Linked DNA regions of Homo sapiens: regions 1 and 2 are each linked to region 3. Evidence: promoter capture Hi-C in 16 types of primary human blood cells and fetal thymus (Javierre and others, 2016). All regions are on one chromosome and are shown on one strand. The core of a region is centred on a gene start or on the middle of the fragment in contact, and the rest is flanking DNA. Distances in the headings are between cores, read along the strand shown. Region 1 overlaps AAAS (aladin WD repeat nucleoporin). Region 2 has its middle 3.4 kb from the start of SP7. Region 3 holds the start of AMHR2 (anti-Mullerian hormone receptor type 2).

Evidence for each region. Contacts are between HindIII fragments. The CHiCAGO score rates a contact against its expected background, and 5 or more counts as called.
Region 1: a fragment that was not itself captured here is called in contact with the fragment with the promoter of AMHR2 in region 3 in 3 of 17 cell types (M1 macrophages, naive B cells and total B cells); the score reaches 6.0 in M1 macrophages.
Region 2: a contact is called between a fragment that was not itself captured here and the fragment with the promoter of AMHR2 in region 3, in 17 of 17 cell types (M0 macrophages, M2 macrophages, activated CD4 T cells and 14 more). The highest score is 19.0, in M0 macrophages.

Annotation. Positions count from the first base shown.
Region 1 is chr12:53,309,934-53,314,308 of GRCh38, forward strand. AAAS (aladin WD repeat nucleoporin) reads right to left here. Exons shown (of 16, transcript NM_015665.6): 7 at 4,365-4,375. Among named protein-coding and RNA genes, the nearest start is that of AAAS, 9.5 kb to the right of the region's middle. The HindIII fragment of the contact is 8,864 bases long and covers 1-4,375 here.
Region 2 is chr12:53,337,568-53,342,012 of GRCh38, forward strand. It overlaps a transcript of SP7 not described here. Among named protein-coding and RNA genes, the nearest start is that of SP7, 3.4 kb to the left of the region's middle. The HindIII fragment of the contact is 2,277 bases long and covers 790-3,066 here.
Region 3 is chr12:53,420,585-53,425,104 of GRCh38, forward strand. AMHR2 (anti-Mullerian hormone receptor type 2) reads left to right here and starts at 3,271. Exons shown (of 11, transcript NM_020547.3): 1 at 3,271-3,399; 2 at 3,704-3,886; 3 at 4,125-4,316. The coding sequence starts at 3,351. RefSeq lists an enhancer at 589-1,155 and a cis regulatory region at 840-1,358. The HindIII fragment of the contact is 5,088 bases long and covers 1,075-4,520 here.

The DNA of each region.
Region 1 (4,375 bases), core at 1,876-4,375, 110 kb before region 3:
AAGAGGTAATCTGCAAGGTCTCAGGCCAGGGTGAAAGAGTGCTTTCACGAGATAGGCCATGAGGCAAAACCTAACCAGTAACCTAGAAGGTACTGCCCCTGGGGCGATATCAGGCCCTACCCCAGAACACAGCTCTCTGCCCACAGGCCATCCAGCCTGGCCATCCATCTATCCAGGATTAATAATCTATGACATTACTTCAAGGTTCCAACCTTTTCTCTCCAGTTATCTAACACTCCTCAGAACACATCCTGTGCTCCCAAACAGCCCTCCTGCCTTGCCTTATCAAAGTACCTCCCAACTCTGCAGCTCCCGCGTTTGCTCCTTATCATAAAGATGCTGCAGGCTGGGCGCAGTGGCTCACGCCTGTAATCCCAGCACTTTGGGAGGCCGAGGTGGGCGGATCACGAGGTCAAGAGATCGAGACCATTCTGGCCAACATGGTGAAACCCCGTCTCTACTAAAAGTACAAAAAAATTAGCTGGGCGTGGTGGTGTTCGCCTGTAGTCCCAGCTACTTGGGAGGCTGAGGCAGGAGAATTGCTTGAACCCGGGAGGCGGAGGTTGCAGTGAGCCGAGATTGCACCACTGCACTCCAGCCTGGCGACAGAGCGAGACTCCGTCTCAAAAAAAAAAAAAAAAAAGATGCAGCATGTGGCTCGGCCTCCATCACCAGCAGGGAACTACCTGAGGGCACCTGCCATGTGTCTGCAGCTGTGTATTTCCAGAGCCATGTGCCTGGCCTGACAGACGAAGGCTACTACCTGAATTAATGCCACCTCTCTTTCCACCTAACTATAACCACCTTCAGCTCCAGTGAAGTCTTAGTCATGGATGTACAATTTAATTCTCTTGAACTTTATGATAAATCACAGCTGCCTTTGCAGGTGGGTTCAGATTCATCTCATTCTTTTCAGTGGCTCCATTGTATACCACTCAATAGATGAACTATAATTTATTGAGTCATGCCTCTACAAATGGACATTTGACTTGTTTGTAATTTTTTATTATACATAATGCTGTAAAAAATATTTCCTGGGCCAGGCATGGTGGTTCACACTCCAGGATGGAGTGCAGTGACACAGTCATAGCACACTGCAGCCTCAAAGTCCTGAGGCTCCTGCCTCAGCCTCTAAAGTAGCTAGGACTACAGGCGTACACCCCACGCCCAGCTAGTTTTTTTATTTTTATTTTTTGTATAGACAGCATCTATGTTGACCAAGCTAGTCTCAAACTCCTAGGCTCAAGCGATCCATCTGCCTCAGCCTCCGAAAGTGCTGGAATTACACGCATGAGCCATCACGCCTGGCCTTGTTTTTTGTTCATTTATTTAAAAAAATTTTTTTAAATCGAGTTCCGCTCTTGTCACCCAGGCTAGAGTACAATGGCATTATCTCAGCTCACTGAAACGTCCACCTCCTGGGTTCAAGTGAATTCTCCTGCCTCAGCCTCCTGAGTAGCTGGGATTATAGGCGCACGCCACCACACCCAGCTAATTTTTGTATTTTTAGTAGAAACAAAAAAAACCAACAACCTTCCAGGCGTGGTGTACGCACCTATAGTCCCAGCTACTTGGCAAGGGGCTCACTTGAGCCCAGGTGTTCAAGGCTGTAGTGTGCAATGATTGAGTCTGTGAATAGCCACTGTATTCCAGCCTGGGCAACATAATGAAACCCCATCTCTAAAAAAACCAAAAAACAGGCCAGTTGCAGCGGCTCATGCCTGTAATCTCAGCACTTCGGGAGGCCGAGGCAGGCGGATCACCTGAGGTCAAGAGTTTGAGACCAGCCTGGCCAATATGGTGAAACCCCTGTCTCTACTAAAAATAAAAAATTAGCCGGTGTGGTGGCACGCACCTGTAGTCCCAGCTACTTGGGAGGCTGAGGCAGGAGAATCGCTTGAACCCAGGAGGCAGAGGTTGTTGCAGTGAGCTGAGATGGCGCCACTGCACTCCAGCCTGGGCGACAGAGTGAGATTCCATCCCCCCCCAAAAAAAATCTGTGATCACGTGTTTTTTTCTTATAGTACCTATTGTCAAGGTTTAGGTATCAGGGTTACATTAGCTTTATAAAAATAAATCAGGAAGATCCTGCAACAAAAAAAAGGGAGGACAGGCCGGGCATGGTGGCTCACGCCTGTAATCCCAGCACTCTGGGATGCTGAGGCGGGCGGATCACGAAGTCAAGAGGAGAATCACTTGAACCCGGGAGGCAGAGGTTGCAGTGAGCCGAGATTGCACCACTGCACTCCATCCAGCCTGGGCAACAAAAGTGGAACTCCATCTCAAAAAAAAAAAATCTCATTATTTTCTTCTACAATCCACTTTGGTAACTTATATTTTGCTAGAAAATCAAACATTTCCACAGGGCACGGTGGCTCACTTCTATAATCCCAGCACTTTGGGAAGCCAAGGCGGGCGGATCACAAGGTCAGGAGTTCAAGACCAGCCTGGCCAATATGGTGAAACCCTATCTCTACTAAAAATACAAAAATTAGCTAGTGCGTGCCTGTAGTCCCAGCTACTTGGGAGGCTGAGGCAGAAGAATCACTTGAACCCGGGAGGCTGAGGTTGCAGTGAGTCGAGATCGTGCCACTGCACTCCAGCCTGGGCAACAGGAGTGAAACTCCTTCTCAAAAAAAAAAAAGAAATCAAACATTTCCTTCAGATTTTCAAATCTGTTGGCCTAAACAAGTCCACAATATTCTTTTATAATTCTTCTATTTTCTCCCGTATCTATATCTTTCCACTTCTGAAAATAGTATACTTTGGTTTTCTTTTTCTCCTTAATTAGGCTAACCAAGAGGTTTTCTTCTTTATTCATATATATACGTATATACACGTATACATACACGTATATATATATATACGTGTATATATATGTGTATATATATAAAACATATATGTGTGTGTGTGTGTATATATATATATATTTTTTTTTTTTGAGACAGAGTCTTGCTTTGTTGCCCAGGCTGGAGTACAGTGGCGTGATCTCAGTTCACTGCAACCTCCGCCTCCCAGGTTCAAGTGACTCTCCTGCCTCAGCCTGCCAAGTAGCTGAGACTACAGGCGAGCACCACCACGCCCAGCTGATTTTTTGTATTTTTAGTAAAGATGGGGTTTCACCGTGTTAGCCAGGATGGTCTCTATCTCCTGACCTCATGATCCACCCGCCTCAGCCTCCCAAAGTGCTGGGATTACAGGCGTGAGCCACCGCGCCTGGCCTTTTTTTTTTTTTTTTTTTTGAGACAGGGTCTCACTCTGTTGCCCAGACCAGAGTACAGCTGTAGTGGCATGATGTCAACTCACTGCAACCTCCGCTTCCCGGGTTCAAGTGATTCTTGTGTCTCAGCCTCCCAAGTAGCTGGGATCACAGGCACGCACCACCACGTCCAGCTAATTTTTTTGTATTTTTAGTAGAGATGGGGTTTCGCCATGTTGGCCAGGCTGGTTTCGAACTCCTGGCCTCAAGAAATCCACCCACCTTGGTCTCCCAAAGTGCTGAGATTACAGGCATGAGCCACTGCGCCTGGCCTAATTTTTGTATTTTTAGCAGAGACGGGTTTTACCATGTTGGCCAGGCTGGTCTCAAACTCCTGACCTCAGGTGATCCTCACGCCTTGGCCTCCCAAAATGCTGGGATTACAGGTGTGAGCCACTGTTCCCAGCCTTTATTCATAATTTTTTTTTTTTTTTGAGACAGAGTCTCGCTCTGTTGCCCAGGCTGGAGTACAGTGGCATGATCTTGGCTCACTGCAACCTCCGCCTCCCAGATTCAAGCGATTCTCCTGCCTCAGCTTCCCGAGTAGCTGGGACTACAGGTGTGTACCACCATGCCCAGCTAATTTTCATATTTTTAGTAGAGACAAGGTTTTGCTATGTTGGCCAGGCTGGTCTCGAACTCCTGACCTCAGGTGATCCAACCGCCTCCACATCCCAAAGTGTTGGAATTACAGGCATGAGCCACCGCACCCAGCTTAGTCATAATTTAAAGAACCAGTTTCTGGTTTTATTTTTAGTTAGTTTTCACAGGTATTCTTTTTCTAATTTTATTAGTTTCTGATCTTATTAGTACTAATTTTCTTTACACTTCCTTTAAGTGTAAAGGAAGTGTATAGTCCTCTGAAAGAGTCTTTCCACCCCGTAACCCACAGACACATTGTCCCCACAATCCAAAAAGCCCCTAGTTCTCTTTCTCCAGATTAGAGTATTCTCAGCAACCCACCTTGATCTTACTTCTGCTTTTCCCATAGCCCTGGGAAGTGCTGTGAGGACAAAGAACTTCTCCTTTCAGACGTCCTCACCACCCACCATGCCTAGCATTGCACAACTCTCAGGCCAAGGTAAGGCAGGCTACTAGGACTTACCGGGTAGACAA
Region 2 (4,445 bases), core at 678-3,177, 84 kb before region 3:
TTTCCACTCTCCTCACTCTGCAACACCATCCCCTCACTTTCTCGGAGTGCCCAATTCCTTGCTCCTTTTGCTCTCCCAGATCTCCAAAGAAAAAGCTGGGAGGTGGCAGGAGCAGATGGAGGTCCACGGAGGGTTGCACAGCAGTTTCGCCAGCAGGTAGGCACCAATTTCAGGGTAGGGCCCAGGAGTTCTGGATTCTAGCCCCATGATTTGATTTACCTCAAGGAACTCTGGGAACCCAAGGTTTAGGGGAAGGGTTTGGGAACCAGGTGGCTGATAGACAAAGAGAAAGCAGCAAAAGAAGAAACAGAGCAAATGAAAGAGTCCAAGACAATCAGAAGAGATATCACCAGGTATAAGAGAGAGGAAACAGGAAAACAGAAGACCAGATGTGTGGCTTTAAACAACAACAACAACAACAACAAAAAACAGAGCAGGAAAGAAACTAAAAAGATAAAGAAACAGGCCCAGAGGAACAAAGATGGGGAGACAATGGCTTGGGAAGGACAGAGAAAATAGCCTGAGGCATAGCCAGGTCCGGAGGAGGAGGAGGAGGAGGAGGAGGAGGAGGGTTGTGTTGCCAGGCAGGTGGGGGGGCGGGGAAGGAGTATAAATAGCACATAATTGTGTCCGCTGATTACACGGGCCACCCCACCCGTCTGCCTGAGAGGAAGTGCCCGTGGTGGGGTGTCCCTGTGACCTCGCGGTCTCCCCCTTGTTGGGGGGGAGTCTGAGACTGAGGTGCCAGATGGCTTTCCGGGGCCCCGAACTCAGAAGTTGAGAAAGAGAAGCTTTAGAGAAATTCCTGTATCACCAGCAGAAAAGCCCGACCCAGTTAGATCAGGCAGGAAACTGAGGCAGAGGAGGAGAAAGTCTAGATTCTAAAGAAGAGATAGCAGGTGAGGAGGGGGTTGGGACTCAGATTAGATGAGAGAAGAAAGGAAGAAACTGAAGGGGAAAAGGAGGAAGGATGGAAAGATAAATGGACAGACAGGGCTGGGGAGAGGAGTTGGAAGGAAGGGTCACCTTCTCACTCCCCGTGTGGGCTTTAATCCCTAACCCTACCCGGGAAGGGGCAGACGTATTCAAACCCTACTATTCTCTATTCGAACCCTACTATTCTCGGAGAAATAAAAAGGAGGAGCAGAGTCCCAGGAAGATGTGAGCCAGTGCCCCGATGTGTCAACATAGGACACCCTCTGGACACAGAGCCTCTTCCCCACCAGAGATCAGCGCCAAAGATAGGCAGAGGGGCTGCCTGAATCCCCCAGCTGCTGCCCTCAGGAACCCCTGGGTTCTGACTTCTCCATGTCCTTTTTAAAAATAGTCCTGCAGCCCAGCTGAGGCTCTGGTGTTCCTGGGTCCAGCTCCCCAGTCTCCTTCCCAGTGCCCTGAGGGGCTGGGGGCAGCAATTGGAAGCCCTAACCAAGGACCTACCTCCACCCTCTCAGGCCTCCCTCAGCCCAGCCTCCCAGGGGGTGGGGCAGACCAGGGAGAGGCGCCATGTGGCAGGGGCGGGTAGAGGCTGCGGCTCTGGTCCTTCCAGTATAAACCCCCTAGGCATCTGGTTTCTATCCACCACCCCCCACCACCCTGGGGGCCCCTCAGCCTCCGCCCATGGCCACCCAGACGCTGAGCTCCAAGGGATGGATGCCCCAGACGGAAGGGGTGGGATGATGCCTTTCTGATATCCCAATGCCAGGACTGGGCTGAACCACAGGAACCATTCCCTTCCCACCCTCCCCTAGGAGAATCAGGGTGGGCTTTGTAGGTTAGAGGGGGTTGAATCTGGCACCTGCCTCAGTTCTCCAAATGATTTTGGATCTTTTTGGAAAGATCAGTGGGGTGAAAACAGAATGAAAACTGGGGAGAGTGGGGCCGGGTGCAGTGGCTCACGCCGGTAATCCCAGCGCTTTGGGAGGCCAAGGTGGGTGGATCACCTGAGGTCAGGAGTTTGAGACAGCCTGGCCAACATGGTGAAACCCCGTCTCTACTAAAAATACAAAAATCAGCTGAGCGTGGTGACGGGTGCCTGTAATCCCAGCTACTTGGGAGGCTGAGGCAGTAGAATCACTTGAACCCAGGAGGTGGAGATTGCAGTGAGCTGAGATCATGCCATTGCACTCCAGCCTGGGCAACAAGAACAAAACTCCATCTCAAAAAAAAAAAAAAAGAAAGAAAAAAAAAACTGGGGAGAGTGGGAGACCTGTACCCCCTATTCCCAAGGGATGCTACTTCCATCGTCCACACCATCACCCTCTACCACCTTTCTAGGCTGGGCTGTCTCTAAGAGCCTCATCCAAAGGGACTCCCAACTCTTCATTGTTGCTGTTATAGAAGGTTTGACTACCCTAGGGAGAATCACCAGAGAATAGTGAGCAGAGCCCCTGAAATAGAGACTGACACATGCCCTAATACATACCTGATGACAGACACATTCAGATCTGCATACTTGCACACACACAAGGTGACACATAATTCATACACATTTGTACTATGCAGGCATCCATATTGACACACACTGATATATACATATACAGATAATGCTTACCCCAAGACACCCTAACCCCCAATCATAAAAATGCACACACCAGTATATATATACATGCATACAGACTCACAGCCACCTAGAATACTCCCCACATGGACTCACAGACTCCCATCAACACACGTATCTACACATGTGGCAAATGTCACATACATATACCCAGGGCTACCATTACAACTTTACAGCCCTGGAGATCTCTGTGGTCTCCTAAAGGGCATTTGGGAACCCCTCTCCCTATAAGGATCTGGAGATAAGGGTGATATGGAGGCCACTGCCAGTCCTGCAAATTGCTGCCTCCAACTCCTACTAGTATAAGAAGTTCCAGTGTACCTTTAGGTACTTTTGATCCAATACTCCACACACACACCAGAGTTCAGAGACCCAGATGGCCCCAGCGAACTCCCTGGTCCTGGGGAACCCCAGCATCCCTACCCCCACCCAGGCCCCCGCTGCTCTGCGGCCCCGCTGACTCATCTCTCCCTCTGTGGAGCTCCCCAACCACAGGGGCCTGGAAGAGAAGCTTGGAAAGTTGCGCTCATGTCCCGGGCCCCTGGTCTGGCCACTACCCGCCCATGCACCCAGCCCAGCCCTTGTCTCCAGTGGATACTCCAGCGACAGAGAACATAGAGGGGACAGGAAAGAAGAAGGCACGCAGAGACAGGGAAACAGAAAGACACAGGAGAGACAAAGAGGAAACAACAAATGGTGGGCATACAGATGAGAGACCCTGAGGATCAGCTACTAGTCTGTTGGGTCCTCTAAGAGCAATGGGGCTGATGACCAGGAAAGCTTGCTCCTTGGGTTGAAGGAACATCCATTCATGGCCTCAGGATTTAGAGACTGCCGAGTGCCTTGACCCAGCATTTCTGACACTAGGCTCAGGGTACTTGGGGAAGAGGATCCAATTTTAGGAGGCAAAGCTGAGGACACAGGGTAGAAAGGAAGCTTTTAAGAGGCTGGCAACCTTTGTATAGGACAGCTTGGAAAAGGAGTTCCTCACCCCAACAAATATGTACACAAATTTACAGGTACAGACAGACTACAACTTCCCTCCCTCTCTGCTAGGTCTCCCCATCCCCTCTTCCAGCACCAGGGCTGCAAGGCAGGACCTCTGGGACTGACTCTGGCTCCCCTCTTCCCTGAGCCTTGGGTTCCTTCATTGACATTGAGCCCTGATATAATTCAGCAGCTTTAGGAGAGGCAGATCAGAATCAGAAACAGAAGTGCCATGGAAGGAGCAGGAAGGAATCTGGATGGCAGGGGACAAAGTGAAAAATGAAAGGAAGAGGAAGACTGGGGTCTGATTCTGAAACAAGGGGACCTGTCCTGGATGCCCGTGTCTAAAATGGGACAACATTGAATTAAGTAAGAACCTGGTCATCTCTAGAAAATGACCCTTTGTAAAAACGATACCCTAGAATCTGATCCATGAAATATACTAGTGTCTTTCATAAGAAGAAGTTGGGGTGATGGAGTTCTGATCACATCATCCCTAGGAGTGAGGCTGAGCAACTCAAGGGAATGGTCCTTCAAAATCCTAAATACAGGCCTGGTGAGGTGGCTCACACCTGTAATCCCAGCACTTTGGGAGGCCGAGGTGGGTGGATCACCTGAGGTCAGAAGTTTGAGACTAGCGTGGCCAACATGGCAAAACCCTGTCTCAGGCTGGCCGAGGTGGCTCATGCCTGTAATCCCAGCACTTTGAGAGGCTGAGGAGGGCGGATCACGAGGTCAGGAGATCGAGACCATCCTGGCTAACATGGTGAAACCCTGTCTCTACTAAAAATACAAAAAATTAGCCGGGCGTGGTGGCGGGCGCCTGTAGTCCCAGCTACTTGGTAGGCTGAGGCAGAAGAATGGCGTGACCGGGAGGTGGAGCTTGCAGTGAGCCGAGATC
Region 3 (4,520 bases), core at 2,021-4,520:
AACTCTAAAACCTAACAGCCCAGAGCAGGTATAGTTCCCATAAACCTGACTGGAATGTTTCTATCTTGGAAAGAATTAGTTATCCGAAGCTTTGGGTGAGGAGACTGCCTTTCTGCCTGATCCTTACGCTGCTCCCACTCTGGAGGAGATAGTCTCCTGAGACATTCCAGACAAAAGAAGCTATTTCACCTTCAAATCTCCCCTCACACCCCACCACACACACCACCCCAGACTTATCTGATCTGGGGCTAGTGAAGGAAAGTAGCTGGAAGCACAACATTCCATCTCACTGGCAAGGCCCTGCAGACTCCTGGAAGGGTCCAAAGAAGGATGGGCGGCTATCTCGAGCCCTGGTCATTCCTCCCGCTGCTGTTTCACAACTACTGGAACTTTTACTATCTCTTCCTTTCATGCAGGTTTCCCAGAAGAAAGACCCCAGAATCAAAAAGTCAGTACTCAAGCTGGGCGCAGTGGCTCCCGTCTGCAATCCCGGCACTTTGGGAGGCCGAGGGGGGCGGATTACCTGAGGTCAGGAGTTTGAGACCAGCCTGGCCAACATGGCGAAACCCCGTCTCTACTAAAAATACAAAAATTAGCCGGGCGTGGTGGTATGCGCCTGTAGTCCCAGCTACTCAGGAAGCTGAGGCCGGAGAATCGCTTGAACCCGGTAGGCAGAGGTTGCAGTGAGCCGAGATCGCACCACTGCACTCCAGCCTGGGTGACAGAGCGAGACTCCGTCTCAAAAAAAAAAAAAAAAAAAAATGTCGGTACTCAGACTGTCCTCCCTGGTCTAAGCCAGATCATTCCAAGAAAGGGTTTCCAGGAAGCCACTAGGGGGACAGAAAGCTAGGGAAACAGAGAACAAGTCCCCTCTGACTCTTAATTCTCAAGGAGCCAGTGGCTCACAGGTGTGGAAGTGATTACCTATTTCTGTTGTTTCTTACTCTGGGAAAGAGTCTGGTGGAGTTGGACTCCTCTGTCTCTACTGCAGAACAAGCCATAGCCCTCTCCTCCCAACTCCATGCTGAAACTCTCCACATCCTGTGCCCGCCCTTCACATTTTATAGTCCCTGAAGCTTAGTAAATGTAGGAGGTATACTATATGTATTAGTCATCAGAGGAGGTACTTTCTGCCCTCTCACCGCAGCAGGGAATTTCTCCTCTGCTGACCTCTGGTGGTGATAGTTTGAACTGTACCCTCCCTTTTTAGTTAGTGGCCTGTTGGCAGGTAATGATGCATATTTTCTCAACAATTTAAATTCAAATGTCCAAGTATAGTATTAAGTGGTAATTTTTTTTCATTGTTGAATTTTGTACGTCTTTCAGGCAGTATAGTGTAATACAAAGAATAGAGCCGGCCGGGTGCGGTGGCTCACGCCTGCAATCCCAGCACTTTGGGCGGCCGAGGCGGAGGGATCACGAGGTTAAGAGATCGACCCCTTCGGCCGGGCGCAGTGGCTCACGCCTGTAATCTCAGCACTTTGAGAGGCCGAGGCGGGCGGATCACGAGGTCAGGAGATCAAGACCATCCTGGCTAACACGGTGAAAACCCGTCTCTACTAAAAATACAAAAAATTAGCCGGGCGTGGTGGCGGCCGCCTGTAGTCCCAGCTGCTCGGGAGGCTGAGGCAGGAGAATGGCGTTAACCCGGGAGGCAGAGCTTGCAGTGAGCCGAGATCGCGCTACTGCACTCCAGCCTGGGCGACAGAGCAAGACTCCATCTCAAAAAAAAAAAAAAAAAAAAAAAGATCGACCCCATCCTGGCCAACATGGTGAAACTCCGTCTCTACTAAAAGTACAAAAATAATAATAAAAATAAGACTAGAACCTGGACTTTGGAGTCAGACCTGCCTAAGTTCAAATTCCAGCTCTGCTATTTCCTAGCTGAATGACTTTGGGCGACTTACGTAAGTTCAGTTTTCTTACCTATAAAATGGAAATAATAAAAATAATAGGCCAGGCACAGTGGCTCACACTTGTAATCCCAGCACTTTGGGAGGCCAAGGCGGGCAGATCACGAGGTCACGAGATCGAGACTATCCTGGCCAACATGGTGAAACCCTGTCTCTACTAAAAATACAAAAATTAGCTGGACATGGTGGTGCGTGCCTGTAATCCCAGCTACTCGGGAGGCTGAGGCAGGAGAATCGCTTGAACCAGGGAGTCAGAGGTTGCAGTGAGCCAAGATGGCACCACTGCACTCTAGCCTGGTGACAGAGCGACACTCGGTCTCAAAAAATAAATAAATAAAATAATAATAATAAATATTTCAGGGGAGAATTAGATGAGATGATTGTAAAATGCATAGCCCTAGCTGTGCCCCAGCACATAGTAGGTGCTTGATAAGAAATTTGTTACCTCCTTAATAATGGGTATTTGTTCAGCCTGTGAACCAATGTGTTTTTTTTTTTTAAGTAAAATCCACGGCTAGGCATGGTGGCTCACGCCTATAATCCCAGCACTTTGGGAGGCCGAGGCGGGCAAATCACCTGAGGTAAGGAGTTCGAGACTAGCCTGGCTGACATGGTGAAACCCCGTCTCTACTAAAAATACAAAAATTAGCCAGGTGTGGTGGCAGGCGCCTGTAATCCCAGCTACTCAGGAGGCTGAGGCAGGAGAATAGCTTGAACCCAGGAGGCGGAGGTTGCAGTGAGCTGCGATCGTGCCACTGCACTCCAGCCTGGGGGAGAAGAGCGAGACTCCGTCTCAAAAAAAAAAAAAAAAAAATCCACATAGCAAAATTTACCATTGTTACTGTTTTCAATGTGTTTTTTAAAAATTCAGGTAAGTTTTGTATACTTTCTGATTCTTAAGTTGGAAAACAAGGTAACCTCTAATATGGGCTGTGAGGCCTTCCTCTGCCCAAGCAGTTGCAGATATGAACCCTGAATATAAAGAGATCTTAGGCTAGAAAGGATCTTGGGCAGAGCTGAATGGCTCTAAGCATTTGACCTCACATTGGTTTCCTCCTGAGAAGAGTCAACAGAGTCCAGCATCTTCTTCCAAGGTCAGGGAAGGGCAAAGATTTGAAATTAGGCATCACTGGGTTCTCAGCTGGGCCTCCAAGTTCCCCTCCTCTCACTATGCAGAGCAAAGAGGAGGTTGCAGAAGAGAAGAGGATATGAGATTGGTTCTCTGCTCCTCCCTTTCTTTCCCTGCTTTCCCCACACCCACCCTCTCCCCCACAGCAGCCTTCTCCCCCACAGAGGCTGGGATAGGATGAGGGGGGCGGAGTTGGGGACTGAGGGATCAGAAGCCCCAGGATGCCCTGTATCTGAAGAAAGATTTGGCCAGGGGCAGCTGTGCTGGCTTATGCTCTTCTCCTTCTGCTGCTGCCATCCTCCAGCAAGATGCTAGGGTCTTTGGGGCTTTGGGCATTACTTCCCACAGCTGTGGAAGGTAAGTGTCTACAGGGAGGGGAAGGGTCTCTCCATCCATCCAGCAAGGGAAAGGGGCGCTTGAAGCAAGAGCCACCCCTTTGGAAGAGTGGTGAGTGGGCTGGGTGAGTAAGGGTGAAGGATAGAGCCATGTGTCCCCATGGCAGGGCTCAGGTTCCAGGCCTCTGCTGACCCTGCTTCCTCCTGTGGCTTTACCATACTGACGCTGGGATGTGGAACATGTTTTGTCTATTCTTTTGGCCAGTTTTTTGCCTCTGCATTCACTCCCACCTTGAATCTTTTCCTTTCCCCACCCTGGGCCTCAGCACCCCCAAACAGGCGAACCTGTGTGTTCTTTGAGGCCCCTGGAGTGCGGGGAAGCACAAAGACACTGGGAGAGCTGCTAGATACAGGCACAGAGCTCCCCAGAGCTATCCGCTGCCTCTACAGCCGCTGCTGCTTTGGGATCTGGAACCTGACCCAAGACCGGGCACAGGTGGAAATGCAAGGTGAATGGCAAAGTATATGGCAGGTGATGGCTAGGGTGGGAGACAGACACATCCTGGGGTGTGGGTGGCAACCAAGGGGGAAGGGGAGAAATAGAACATCTGGTGGGAAAGAAAAGCCCATGAGAGCTGGAAGGGACGCCTCTGATAGAGAAGGGATTTACCCTCTGTTTCCACACCCCATTGTGCTTTCTTCCTTGCCCCCCCTTTCTCTCCTCTTCCCCTAATCCCATCCCATCAGGATGCCGAGACAGTGATGAGCCAGGCTGTGAGTCCCTCCACTGTGACCCAAGTCCCCGAGCCCACCCCAGCCCTGGCTCCACTCTCTTCACCTGCTCCTGTGGCACTGACTTCTGCAATGCCAATTACAGCCATCTGCCTCCTCCAGGGAGCCCTGGGACTCCTGGCTCCCAGGGTCCCCAGGCTGCCCCAGGTAGCCACCCAAGGGTACTGAAGCCTGATGGGGGCTGGGGCCCAGGTTAGGATGAGAGGTGGAACCAGGGCCAGTTCTCACCCTACTCCCGCCCCACGCTTTCCTCCTCCTGGCCTTGGGAAGTTGGTTGCCCTGGTGACTGGGAGATAAGGGGTCTTGTGACCAGGGTGGGGGTGGGTTGAGACGCAAGCTCTCAGGAGGGGA